Linked DNA regions of Homo sapiens: region 1 is linked to region 2. Evidence: promoter capture Hi-C in human tissues and cell types (Jung and others, 2019). All regions are on one chromosome and are shown on one strand. Each heading gives the region's core, a stretch centred on a gene start or on the middle of the fragment in contact. The rest is flanking DNA. Distances are from core to core; before and after follow the strand shown. Region 1 overlaps SMAP2 (small ArfGAP2). Region 2 holds the start of ZFP69B (ZFP69 zinc finger protein B).

What was found. The method cuts DNA at HindIII sites, captures the fragments that hold promoters and counts their contacts. A contact is called where the count stands out against the background at its distance.
Region 1: a fragment that was not itself captured here is called in contact with the fragment with the promoter of ZFP69B in region 2 in 2 of the 25 tissues and cell types used here (aorta and hippocampus).

Annotation. Positions count from the first base shown.
Region 1 is chr1:40,384,023-40,391,314 of GRCh38, reverse strand. The region is part of intron 1 of SMAP2 (small ArfGAP2); the gene reads right to left. Among named protein-coding and RNA genes, the nearest start is that of SMAP2, 14 kb to the right of the region's middle. RefSeq lists an enhancer at 5,301-5,570. The HindIII fragment of the contact is 3,706 bases long and covers 2,573-6,278 here.
Region 2 is chr1:40,446,516-40,453,794 of GRCh38, reverse strand. It overlaps ZFP69B (ZFP69 zinc finger protein B), which reads right to left and starts at 3,319. Exons shown (of 5, transcript NM_023070.3): 1 at 2,707-3,319. The coding sequence starts at 2,833. It overlaps ZFP69B-DT (ZFP69B divergent transcript), which reads left to right and starts at 3,756. Exons shown (of 5, transcript NR_198977.1): 1 at 3,756-3,975. RefSeq lists an enhancer at 2,026-3,225 and a silencer at 3,441-3,700. The HindIII fragment of the contact is 23,553 bases long and covers 1,169-7,279 here.

The DNA of each region.
Region 1 (7,292 bases), core at 3,176-5,675, 64 kb after region 2:
CTGTGTATAGTATACACTTAATGCATGCTTACTGATTAAACAGGTAATAAGCAATAGTGGAATAACATGAAAACTGATATTAAAAACAGCCCATATTCAAATAGTCCCATCTTTGTTCCTCTAGACCAATGGCTCCCAACAGAAACGATTTCCCCTCAAGGGGCAATGCTGATGTCTAGAGACATTTTTGGTTGTCACAACGGGCAGAGGGGTAGGGAAGAGCTACTGGCATCTAGTGGGCAGAGGACAGGAATGCTGGCTCCTAAACATTCTAAAATGCCCTGGACAGTGCCCACAACAAGGAATCACCCAAAATGTCAATAGTCTGAGGTTGAGAAATCCTGCTCTAGAGGAACCATTTTTAAGCCATTTAGTTTGAAGTGAGACATAAGAATATGTCAATTTTGTGGAAAAGCCTCTCTTGTTCTGTAACAAACAGATACACGTTTAGAGTACAAAATTCTAAAATTGTAACAAACCTTAGGAATGATCTAGTCTAAGCACAGTTGGAGAAACTAAGGCCTAGAGAGGTCAAGTCATTTGCCCAAGTTCACAGAAGAAAGGATCAGCTGGACTGAAATTAGAATCACCTTTACACACCCAAATGTGTGTTATACATAGTAAATGCTCAATAATGGTCACTAAATTGATATCTTGTTCTTTAGGTATTCTTTTTTTTATTATTACAACATACAATTCACTCTCTGCTGCTGGGAATCTGAGACTGATTGTGAAGATTTCTTCCCATCCACACTCCCCTTCCTCAAAAAGAAGCCCAGAAGGGAAAAACAGTGTAACCTACTAGAGCTCAAGACTGAGTGGCCAGGCAGAAGATGTTTTTCAATTGTTTCCAGGGAAGCTCATGTCTTTCACCCAGGCAGAGGCTCTACATAAAACCTTCTAAGTGAGCAAATGAGCCCTTGTGCAAGACCATGGACATGTGAATTTCTCTTCGCAACTCAGCACAGCAGCTTTCCTAACACATTGGAGAAGTCCCAACCAATGGCAAACAGATGGAAAATCAGTGCCAGTTTCACTGAATCACAACCACATCCAAACAAGCTAGAAAGCTTTCAGTTCTAAACAAACAGCAGAATCAAAATGAATTCTGGGATCAAAGTACAGATGGTTGGTTAGTCCAGTGGTGTGCAGAATATCAGTCATCAAAACAGCCCTGGCTTAAGGGAGGAGAGCAAAAGATGGAGATTTGCCCTTTGAAAAAGAAAACATTCACCACGATGTTTCAAAACCCAGGCGTTTCAGAATAGAACACAATGAGGTCAAAATATATGGCATAAGGGGGTGGGGCAAAGATACCAGCCATGTGAGTACAAAGATCCTGCAAAGGGAACATTAGGCAGATGAACTCAGGGCAGGTCTGGGGGTGGGCGGGGGAGGGGAGTGGGTGGAGGTGGGGGCATCACAATTTCAAAAGAGCCCAAGTAAGATTCTTTAAACGAACCTGTTCCAGTGGGCACAAGGAGTTTCTAAAACTGCTGCAAGGTTATTAAATTCTACAGCACCTGAGAACCACGTCTAAATATTTACTCCCATCCCACAAAAGGGCTAAAGGACTGCTATTTCAGCCTCCTGTTTCACACTTCATGCTACATTTTTCCCCAGGATGATGTGTCACACCAAAACCTCCTACTGAGAGGGCAGAGGATTCGCTTCATGTCTAGCTCCAGCTTCCAAAGCAGCACAGGTGGCAGAAGCACAGAAATGAAATGGCACAAAGAAGCAATTACCACAAAGCAACCATGAGATTCACCTGCTCAGCTTCCTGGTGTCACAGATCTTCAGCTATCTGGGCTAACAGTATGAGGAAGACTATCAAAAAACAAAACAAAGCATATGACCTGAACACACATTAACAGAATAATGCTGCTCATAATAGGGACATAGACACTATGTGCCAGACACCGTGCATTAAGTATGCAGATAGACATGAAAACACAGTCCCTGTCCTCATCTCCAGTCTGAGGGCCCTTCTTCAAAAAAAAAATAATAATGCAGTAGCTGTTACCTCCTTTCTACTAATGTAGGACCTCTAATCCACCTCCTTAGAGGACTAAGTTTAAGTGAATGAGGACTGTATGAACAACATAAGATGCTAGTCAATGGCGCAAGGGTATTTCCGCACATCAGGTATATAATGTTGTGTCCGGAATTGGTGGGTTCTTGGTTTCACTGACTTCAAGAATGAAGCCGTGGACCCTCGCAGTGAGTGTTACAGTTCTTAAAGGCGGCGTGTCCGGAGTTTGTTCCTTCTGATGTTCGGATGTGTTCGGAGTTTCTTCCTTCTGGTGGGGTTCGTGGTCTCGCTGGCTCAGGAGTGAAGCTGTGGACCCTCGCGGTGAGTGTTAAAGCTCTTAAGGCAGCGCGTCTGGAATTGTTCGTTCCTCCCGGTGGGTTCGTGGTCTCGCTGGCTTCAGGAGTGAAGCTGCAGACCTTCGCGGTGAGTGTTGCAGCTCATAAAGGCAGTGTGGACCCAAAGAGTGAGTAGCAGTAAGATTTATTGCAAAGAGCAAAAGAACAAAGTTTCCACACTGTGGAAGAGGACCCGAACAGGCTGCCACTGCTGGCTCGGGCAGCCTGCTTTTATTCTCTTATCTGGCCCCATCCAATCACATCCTGCTGATTGGTAGAGCGGAGCGGTCTGTTTTGACAGGGTGCTGATTGGTGCGTTTACAATCCCTGAGCTAGACACAAAGGTTCTCCACATCCCCACCAGATTAGCTAGATACAGAGTGTGGACACAAAGGTTCTCCAAATCCCCACCAAGAGTAGCTAGATACAGAGTGTCCACACAAAGGTTCTCCAAGTCCCCACCAGAGTAGCTAGATACAGAGTGTCGATTGGTGCATTCACAAACCCTGAGCTAGACACAGGGTGCTGATTGGTGTGTTTACAAACCTTGAGCTAGATACAGAGTGCCGACTGGTGTATTTACAATCCCTGAGCTAGACATAAAGGTTCTCCAAGGCCCCACCAGACTCAGGAGCCCAGCTGGCTTCATCCAGTGGATCTCGCACTGGGGCTGCAGGTGGAGCTGCCCGCCAGTCCCGCGCTGTGCGCCCACACACCTCAGCCCTTGGGTGGTTGATGGGACCGGGTGCCGTGGAGCAGGGGGCGGTCTCGTTGGGGAGGCTCAGGCTGCACAGGAGCCCACAGAGGTGGGGGGAGGCTCAGGCATGGCGGGCTGCAGGTCCCGAGCCCTGCCCCGTGGGAAGGCAGCTAAGGCCCGGTGAGAAATCCAGCGCAGCGCCGGTGGGCCGGCACTGCTGGGGGACCCAGCACACCCTCTGCAGCCGCTGGCCCAGGTGCTAAGCCCCTCATTGCCCAGGGCCAGCAGGGCTGGCCGGCTGCTCCAAGTGCGGGGCCCGCCAAGCCCATGCCCACCCGGAACTCCAGCTGGCCCACAAGTGCGGCACACAGCCCCGGTTCCCGGAGCTGGCTCCCTCCACACCTCCCCGCAAGCCGAGGGAGCCAGCTCCGGCCTCGGCCAGCCCAGGAAGGGGCTCCCACAGTGCAGCAGTGGGCTGAAGGGCTCCTCAAGTGCGGCCAGAGTGGGTGCCAAGGCCGAGGAGGCACCGAGAGCGAGCGAGGGCTGTGAGGGCTGCCAGCACGCTGTCACCTCTCAATGTGAAAGTGCCGGCCCATCTTGCTGTGGTATGACCCATAAAGCTGTTCCTTATGTCCCTTATGTTCCTTAGGTCCCTTATGGGGAAACCAGGGTTCTCCCGAATTCCCCATTCCTTGCCTCAGCAGACATCTACTGCAATGAAGCAGTTCAGAATGATAATGCCCATAGCAAAGCCATCTCTACGTGGGCTCAACCCAGAGAATCCCCTTGGTAACTTTTTAAATTAGAGGGCCCACTTGACTACTCAAATCTGAACACATAAATAACCCATCACTCTAACAACAACACAAAAATTTATACTTCCTTATTTGTATTGTTAAAAAATTGAAAATTCAAATATTAACAATTGGGCAAGAGATAATAATGACATATTCCAATGCTGGGATACAATAAAGGTATTTACACGTTTTTAATGTCATGAAATAAGCTTATAATAAATGTTAAGCAAAAAAGAATGATATAAAATCATTATGGTATAAGCTCAAGTAAATGGGTGATAAGAATTATGAAAAATAAGGCCGGGCATGGTGGTTGATGCCTGTAATCCTGGCACTCCGGCAGGCCGAGGCAGGCAGATGATGTGAGCTCAGGAGTTCGAGACTAGCCTGGGCAACATGGCAAAACCCTGTCTGTACTAAAAATACAAAAATTAGCTGGACGTGGTGGTGTGCACCTGTAGTCCCAGCTACTATGAAGGCTGAGACAGAAGAACTGCTTAAGCCTGATAGAGGCTGCAGTGAGCTGAGATCGTGCCACTGTACTCCAGCTTGGGCGACGGAGCGAGAGACCTTGTCTCCAAAAAAAAAAAAAAAAAAGAATTATGAAAAATACCTTCAGCATCATTATATTTTTCATACTTTCCAATGATTTTTATCGTGGATAGGTTTCAGAATCATAAAAGATAAAGTTGTTGTTGTTTTAAAAAAAACCAGCATTTACTGATGTTTAGATTATAAGCACAGGGATCCTCCTATCTCCCCAGCTCCTAAAATCCCACAAGACAGAAAACAACTGGTCTGTTCCTATGGCAACAAATCTTTTTTTCCTTAAATGTATGAGAAGTCTAATGAAACTGGGACCTATTTTTACTCTGCCCGTAATATGGACCCTTGATCTGAGCCACTTGTGTCAGGCTACTTCTGTCGAGACTAGGCTCAGAACAAGTTAGAATGCTCAGGGAGCCAAGCCGGAGTCTTCCTGATTCCAATGTTTCATTTAATGAAGCTTCCTTTCTCTTTCATATAATCTGGGAATGTTAATACTGTAGTCACACTACAGGAAAGACCTTTCCTCAAGTTTCTCCTCCATCTGTAACGGTTCCTCTAACCGAACTCTTCATGCCTACTTTCAGAGAGACAAAGTCAATCCCTGTTCCAAACAGCTAATCTTTCAGTAAAAATGATTTCAACATAGCAGAAGAGCCTGAATCTCTTAATTCATTCTTTCTCAAATCAGCTGTCACACTCAAATTGGTTTCCGTCAGCTCTGCTGTTTTCAGCTATTTTGAACAAAAGCATCATGGTAAGAACAGGGAGTTTCCTTCCTGTTTCTCTTCTCAGGGTTTGTGTCAGTTATAAGGAGTGATAAAGTGTCAACAACAACAAAAAGACACCAATGCCCCCTTCTCTACAAGCTTTACACTACAGCATATGATGTCACCAGTTCACACAGAAAATTCTGTAAGAAATTATTTTTGAAGGCACAGAACAAAAACAACCACCTAAACAATATCAAGACAAAACTTCCTTAACTCAAAACTAGAAACACTAGAGAACTCATTTCTAAATCCACACATTTGGGGACTTCCAGTTAGACAAGAAAAGAGGAAGTTAAAGAACAAAATGTACTGTGTGCGCACTTCAGACCACTGAGGTGAAATAACATTGTAGGATTAACATGTAAACCCACATCTAAAGATGTAAGCTCTGTGGTAGAGGCCTGGGGATTTATGGTATTCCGTCACCAGCAACTGCTGCAAAAGACAGCATGGCTATTTGAAGAAAAGGAAAAGAAAAGGTGCTCTATTTGCTCAAATCACCATGCTAGGACACACTTATCAGCTACAGCTGAGAGTAGGTCTCTCTCCCTCTCGCATTTGCTTCACTGTTTCAATACATCATAAAATGAGAGCATTACACATTTGATTTGTGGGTGAGGGGAAATGACATGAGGCCTGAGGAACCCAGTTCTCATTGTTTCAGATTAAGAAATTTCTTTTTGGAAGCTTTGACCTGAAATGTTTTTTTTAAAAAAGTATTTTCCAAGTAAGCTTATGAAATCCAGAACTTAAATAAACTGTATTCTATATGTATTTAAAAGCAAACCAGAATTCCTATAGGAAATCTATGAACTGAGGGGAAAAGAGGGCTATGGTCAACAAAATTTGTCAGAGAATCACTTAACATTAATTGAAAATGAAAAAAAGCAACAATAATAAAATTCTACTACTACCGAGTGACATGCTACAAAGGTGGGATTCCAGGGCAAGCTTCAGCCACACATGAGGGAGGATGGGGGATAAGGGGAAGAGCTGGACAAACTGAAGACGACCACCAGAGCAACCTTACGCTGACGGATGGCCACAGCTGAGGCAGATCTGGCTCATCTCTGGGGCTTTCCACTGGGGAGAGACCTGCAGTTCAGCCATCAGTGGACCGGCATTCACAAAGCCTGTGGGGAAACACAGGATCCAGAAGAGTGGGGTAGGGAAGGAGAAAGTGTGGGAAACGGAATAGTCAAACACAGCAGTGAAATATTATATTTATTAAATATGAAGCTTCAAAAATGCATAGATGGACCTCTTAAGTTGAAATGGACCAGCTGAAAAGAACTGGTACTCTGGGAAGCAGTCTGATATGCTTTTTCAAATCCCAAATTACATTTTCATTACACCTGTGAATTATAGTAACACCTGCCAAGAGGAAATGAGTTTTTTGGAGAAAAGAAAGAAACAAGGAAACCTATGCAATTGTTACAGTTGGTAACTTCACTCAAACAACGAGAGTCCTTTATCTGTGGCCTCTGTGGGAAGTAACAGCCTAAAAGCAAACATACTCACACTGCACTGAAAACTCTGCTGGCCTAGTTCCACCAATTCCATTAATATAGCAAGGGCCCAAATGCAGGTGACCTGATTGACAAAAAAAGCACTTCTAGAAAGGGCTGAACTTGTCTCATATAACTCATTAGACACTTTTATAATCACGTAGAAAACAAGTAGCCACAACTTGGAAAGCTCTGCCCTTAAATGGAGCAGCAGCAACATTCCTTACAAGACAAAATATTTTTTTCAGGTCAGGGTAGAAGAAAACAGACCCAGTGATCTTGCCTCCCTCACCCAGTGCAAACTTATCTGAAGTTGTGGGGTAAAACAAACAAATCAATAAGACTAGTTAAACTAACATGCAGCACAAGATAAAACAGCCACACTGCAGTTACCTTAACTGTAAAGAAAACACTGAGCTGAGGCCCGGCCTTGGTGGCTCACATCTGCAATCCCAGCACTTTGGGAGGCCAAGGAGGGTAGGTAGCTCACTTGAGGCCAGGAGTTTGAGACCAGCCTGGCCAATGTGGTGAGACCCTGTGTCTACTAAAAATACAAATAATTAGCTGGGCATGGAGGTACACACCTATAATCCCAGCTACT
Region 2 (7,279 bases), core at 2,070-4,569:
GTTCAAGAGATTCTCGTGCCTCAGCCTCCCGAGTAGCTGGGATTACAGGCGTGTGACACCACGCCCAACTAATCAACATAGATTTCAAGATCCTCCACAACCAGTCCATGGCTTCTCCAAGTATTATCTCCTCTAAACATTATCCTTCATCCACTGGACACACCTACCCACACAATCCTGGTACCATTCTTTGAATACATGTGGATAGTACCCCACCCAAATCCTATTTGGTGAAAAACTGCGATACCCTTCAGGCCCAGTTCAAGTAAAGTTTTCCCAGACACCCTTAATGAGAAGAAAGTTTATTCTCTCCTATGCTTCCCAAAAGCTTGGTTTTTATATCTATTCTAGTATCTATCTCAGGTTGCTTTTTATAATTAATTATCTCTCTCAGTTGAGTATTAATGAGGGTATGGATAGAAACTGTACCTTGCTCATTTTTCTCCATCTGCTAAAGTGCTACACATAACACACTGCCAGCTTTCTAGAATTTAAGTAACACTGGCTGAATTGAGGTATTAAAAATATGCACTACAGGCCAGGCCCGGTGGCTCAAGCCTGTAATCCCAGCACTTTGGGAGGCTGAGGTGGGTGGATCACGAGGTCAGGAGTTGGAGACCAGCCTGGCCAAGATAGTAAAACACCGTCTCTACTAAAAATACAAAAATTAGCTGGGCGTGGTGGCAGGCGCCTGTAATCCCAGCTACTTGGGAGGCTGAGGCAGGAGAATCACTTGAACCCGGGAGGCAGAGGTTGCAATAAGCCAAGATCGAGCCATTGAACTCCGGCTTGGGTGACAGGAAAAAAAAAAAAAAAAAACCACTAGGAATTAAGGCACATGAATAACTGTCTTTGTATTTTATTCCAACTTTTTATCATGAATATTGAACATCTATACATCCACATCTAGATTCAACAATTGTTAATATTTACCATATTTGCTTTACCTATCTACATTTTTTCTGAAGCACTTCAAAGTCGTCTGCATCATAATACTTTATCCCTAAATATTTCAAATAAGGATCTTCTCTTGTACAACCACAGTACTATTTATTAAATCTATGAAAATTAACAATAATTCCATAGTATCATCTAAATATTCAGTCCATATTCAGATTTCCTCAACTGTTTCCTCAACTTTTATTCTGGATTTTTTCCAAACCAGGAGTTAATCAAGGCTCACACATTCAAAGTGGTTGTTACCTCTAGTCTCTTTTACTCTAGAATAAGTACTTCCCCTTTCTTCATGATGTTGTCTTTTTAAGATACAAGAACAGTCTGACTGTATCCTCAATGTGAGGTTTATCTCATTTCTCCATCCCCTGTATTTTCTGTAAACCAGCAGTTCAGTCTTTAAACTTAATTTAGGATCATGTTCAACATTTTTGGTAGGAATACCTTGTAGGTGGTACCAGGTGCTTTATATTACAGTATCTGCAAAGTATAAAATGCCCGGCTATCCCATTACTGAGACATTTGATTAAAACTGTGACCACCACACCTCACTATTGGAAAATTATGTTCATTCCTTGCCATTTAGTAAGTAATTTGAGGGGATAATACTTTGATATCATGTGAGTATCTGTTCCCCATTAACCTTTCAATTATTTTATTTACGGTAAAAGATTCTATCATTCTTTCTACATTTATTTATTTATTTATTTATTTTTGAGACAAGGTCTTGCTCTGTCACCCAGCCTGGAGTGCAGTGGCGCCATCTCAGCTCACTGAAACCTCCCCTTTCCTAGTTCAAGCGATTCTCGTGCCTCAACCTCCCGAGTAGCTGGGATTACAGGCATGTGCCACCACGCCCAGCTAATTTTTGTATTTTTAGCAGAGATGGGGTTTCATCATGTTGGCCAGGCTGGTCTCAAACTGCTGACCTCAAACTCCTGGTCTCAAGCAATCCGCCCACCTTGGCTTCCCAAATTGCTGGGATTACAGGCATGAGCCACCACACCTGGCCTCTTTCTACCTTCATTATTGGCACGCATTTTCTGTAAAAAGCTTTCCCTCACCAACTGAAGAGGATCTAAAAGGCAAGGTAAATGCACATTCATTCCCATAATAACCTATTTTTCAAAGTAAGGAATCAGTGTATTAATTACCTCCAATGTTTGCAAATGAATTCCCCCCCCCCCACGTCTTTCTCTATTTTAAGTGTCAAGGTGATCATGTGGAATTTTACTTATTCAAGGTGTTACCATCAGTTTGGATACTTAAGCTTTCCCAAATCTGTCGAGTGAGAGACCCTTAAACCTGGCCTCTTTTGACACATATCCATAGTCTTTAAGCTCTTCCTTGCTTTCTAGCACAAGTTACTCCAGGCTCACCTGGTACTTCCCCTGCTGCTTCTCTTTCTGACCTAGCCACCAAGTTCCTGTGTGACCCTGGGCAGGCCTCCCATTTGATTTACATTTCCCCACTGTTAGAATAAGAAAAATCAGGTTAAGTCCATCCTGCCCCACATGGCCATGGGAAAGATGAAAATAAATAATATACATAACCATGACACTGAAATACTGGTCCTAGGCTGAAAAGACCACCACTACTTAGGAAAACCCCAGACTAGGAGCCACAATCAACAACTCCGGAAACCCTCCACCCACTCGTCTCCCTAAGAGATGCTTCCACTCAAGTGACTCATTCCTTCTCACACTAGAGGGGACTGCTTTTCCTCCCTCCCACCCATCAGTTTATTCTTACCTTCTGCTTTAAACATCTTAGTCACATCCTCCCACAGGGCCACCCGCTCCGTGGCCGCCTTTGGATGACGCAACTTCACCCAGGTGCTGGCCTCGGTGGGCAGGGTGATCAGGAGCTGCTGCAGCATGACGGCGTCCGCACTCCTTTCTGAGGACCCTCTGTCTTAGCCCATAGGGCTTGTCCACCTCTGATGAGGAAATTGCTGGAAGCTCTGACAGGAGGCTTCCCAATTGTACCGATCTCCTTAATCGCCGACTCCTACTCCTCAATGTCCTCTCTCAGGAACCCAGGGAACATACAGTATCAAAATCCGAGATCTGGACTTGTGTCTATCATCGGCTCTCAGGGCGTATCTCCCAACTTGAGCTCCATCTGTCTCCTTGGCCAGCAGCTGGAGGCGCCAAGTATTTACTCTCAGCAGCCCCTGCAGATGCTGAGCAGAAGACATTAGAATCAGCAAAGGACTAAGGAGGCTCAGTCATAGGGCAGAACGCTAGAACATATATGGATCACTGTAAAATGTTTCCAAAAGATACACGGAGACGGTGGGCAGACACAGCCCACAAAATTCAAAGCACCGCGCACATGTCAGGAAGCACAAAGAGACGAATACAACCCAATTCTTTGTTTGGGGCAGTAATTATGTGTAAAGTAGCCGGGGATTTGGAATCCCAGCTCTTTCACTAGTCGGCTGTAGCAAACCGCGAAACCGCTAGACCCCGCCTCCTCCTCCCCAAATGAGAGGCTAAGTCCTCCCCACAAAGCAAAACGCCCCCGGCCCTAGCCTCCCAGCCTTTGTCTGAGCACGACTCCGGGGCTGCGGAGAGCACCGCGCGCGACAGGGTGGCCGCGGGCGGAACTCGCGCTTCCCGGCTCGCCCAGCTCCCCAAGCCCGGGACAGCCACCCGCTCACCCTCTCCCCGCTGGGCCGGCACGCCCCCGCCTTCCCACCGCTGCAGCCGGGTTCCGGCACTGCGCGGCCAAGCTCCCACGTAGCGCTGCGGCGGGCAGTCGGGGCCCAGTGCGCCTGCGCAGCGGCTGGCTAGAGCATGGTTCCCAGCGTCCTCCCGGGGAGCCGCTCCGCCAGCGCAGACGCCCCCACCGGTGCGCGCCGGGTTGGCTGCGTTCAGGGGCTCCCAGTATCCGATCCCTGCGAGCATCATCAGCCTGGCTCCTGCGGGAGGAGATGGAGCCTGCGTTCTTGGGCCCCAGACTCTGATGAAGAACAACCATCTTTCCTCCGCTGGGAAAATGCACGTGAACGTTAGGGTGAGCCTTTGAAACCCGTGACAAAAGGGAGCCATCGGCATCACGTTTTTTGGTGAAACGACACTGGTGTAAAATAATCCATAGCACTTTCCCTAAATATTATGTACATGCCAGTTATTTATTCTCAGCAGACAGTTGAATGGATTCCGGTATATTGTTAAAAGAATACCACAACAGTTTTCTCTTCTAGTATTCAATAAAAGTTCTCATGTTTATTGCTTACCTTGTATTTCTGAAATGCCAGAAAATACACAAAAACAAAAAAATTATTGCCTGTAATTTCAGCAAGCAGCGGTAACCTTGCTAACAGTTGGTGTACAACCTTTCCTGCACACACACAACGTATTTCATGCATTGTTATATATTTTCCACAAAAGCGATTATACTGTAATGCTGTTTTATTGCTGAGTTTTCTCCCTCCAACAAAATTTGAGTACATCACTCCAAATACATTTCTACATCAACAGTTTACAAAAACAACAAATGAGGAAATAGAATACAATTATAGTACTTGCTAGCTGTTATGAACCGAATGTTTGGATTCCCCAAAATTTATCTTGAAGCCCTAACCTCCATTGTATTTGGAGAGTATTTAGAGATAAGGCCTTTATGGAAGTAATTAAGGTTAGAATATAGTCCTAGTCAGAAACGAACCCAACTCGACCTTACTTGGGGCTTCTAGTCTCCACACTGAGAAAATAAATTTCCGGTTTTTTGTTTGTTTGTTTGTTTGTTTTTTTGAGATGGAGTCTCGCACTGTCCGCAGGGCTGGACTGCAGTGGCGTGACCTCGGTTCACTGCAACCTTCGCCTCCTGGCTTAAAGCGATTCTCCTGCCTCAGCCTCCCAAGTGGCTAGGATTACAGGCGCCCGCCACGACGCCCAGCTAATTTTTTGTATTTTTAGTACAGACGGGGTTCCACTATGTTGGCCAGGCTGGTCTCAAACTCCTGACCTCGGTGTCTGCCCGCCTCGGCCTCCCAAAGTGCTGGGATTACAGGCATGAGCCACTGCGCCCGGCCAGATATCCGTGGTTTAAGCCACCCAGTCAATGGTATTTTGTTACAGCAGCCCAAGCTGATGAATACACTAGCATATAATAGTTACAGAATATGAGGCTCTGTCCTAAGTGCCTTTCATATTTTAACTTATTTTGTCATCACAGAAACCACTGGAAGTAAGTACTATTATTATTCCCACTTTACAGATAAGAAAACTGAGATTTAGAGAAGTTGAATAACTTGCCAAGATCATGTGGCTTACAAGTGGTGAACACAGGCAGTCTATGTTCCTATCTGCTACTCAACAAAAATACAGCATGAAATACAATAAAATGTTAATGGTAGAATCTAAGTAGTGGTATAGGGATGCCGTAATGTAAAATTCTTTCAATTTTTCTGTATATGTATATGTTTTCATAATAAAATATCAGAAAAATACAGCTAAGAATAAACAAGAATTATGCAGGAAATTATAAATAAAACTCCAAATTTTTTGTTTAAATGGTGAGAATAGTGATACAACACATTCACGAGTTGAAATAGAACATTCTAAGTATGTCACTCTTCCTCCAGTTCACATAAACTGTGATGCATCCCAATCAAAATTTCAACTTTTTCGGCCGGACATGGTGGCTCACACCTGTAATCCCAGCACTTTAGGAGGCCAAGGCGGGTGGATCACCTGAGCTCAGGAGTTCGAGACCAGCGTGGTCAACATGGCGAAACCTCATCTCTACTAAAAATACAAAAATTAGTTGGGTGTGGTGGTGTGTGTCTGTAATCCCAGCTACTCAGGAGGCTGAGGCAAAAGAATCGCTTGAACCCAAGAGGTGGAGGTTGTAGGGAGCCAAGATCATGCCACTGCATTCCAGCCTGGGTGACAGAGCAAGACTCCATCTCAAAAAAAAAAAGAAAATCAACTTTTCTTTTTACTAAACTAAATGATTCTAAAGTTTAGCTAGTATGGCAAGTGTTCCAGAATGGCCAATAATGTTTTCCAACAATAATGAAGGCAGACTTGCCCTACCAGATATTACCTTGTATTATGGAGGCAAAATAATCAAAATAAAACTAGTGCCAAAATATACTCGGAAATCAGTGAGATGAAATTGGAAACTCAGAAACAGACTTGACACTTTATTTAAATTTAGTATATTGTAAAGCTGGCGTTTCAAAGCAGCTGGGTAATGATGGATTATTCAACAAATATCATTAGGACAACTAGTTAGCCATTTGGGGAACAGTATGAGTCTTCACTGGCTGACAACAAAATACCATAGACTGGGTGGCTTAACCAACAGAAATTAATTTTCTTATAGTTCTGGAGGCTGGGAAGTCCAAGATCAAGGGGTGAGCAAGGTAGGTTTCCTTCTGAGGCCTTTTCTCTTGGCTTGTAGGCAGCCACCATCTCCTTGTATGCTCACAAGACCTCTTCTTGTGTGCTTGAGGAGAGTGAGCTCTCTGATGTCTCTTCTTTTAAGAACACTAATCCTAACAGATCAGGGCCCCACCCCTGTGACCTCATTTAAACTTATTACTTCTATAAAGGCCTCATCTCCAAATACAGTCACTTTAGGGGTTAGGGCTTCGACATACTCGTTTGTGGCAGAATACAAACACTCAGCCCATAGCAAGAACAAATCAAGTTGGGTTCCTGCTGTACATGTTACACATCGTATAATTTCAAGAAAGTAAAGTTTTGTTTTCTTTTTCACTTTTTAATTTTTTTAATTACCCCGTATCCTAGTCAAAGTAAACTTTTGTTTTAAAGTAAAAGCACAACTGTTAACGTGTTCACATAAAGGTGATTCTAGCCATAGTTTTGGGATAAGAAACTATTCTATACATAGGTTTGTGATTAAGGCCCTATTATTTGCAAGTAACTAGCTCACCAGAATTGCTTTCTAAGTTAAAATGATTATTATTATTGTTGTTGTTGGAAGGATTCTGGAGTCTTCAGGAATTCGAGGAAGAACTGGTTAGCCTAGTCTGTGAAAGTTTACGAACCAGCGGATTTCTGAGCACCACAAAGCAAATGCCCAGAGAGATGCCCTCTAAACCACCACCCTTAACATGATTCAGCTCTGGCAACTTTCAGTTGTGTTACTCAGTTCAAAATTCCAAATTTTGGCAGGATCATTTGATCATTTGGCTTTGACCAGGGGCCACGGAGTGTCATGGTAGAAAGACTTGGCTTCTGGGCACCCACCCCATGAACAGTTAGCAGTTCCCAACGAAGGGGAAATGTTTCAGACTAAGGAAAAAGATGAATGCTCCTGAATTTATTCAATAACAGAAGTAGAA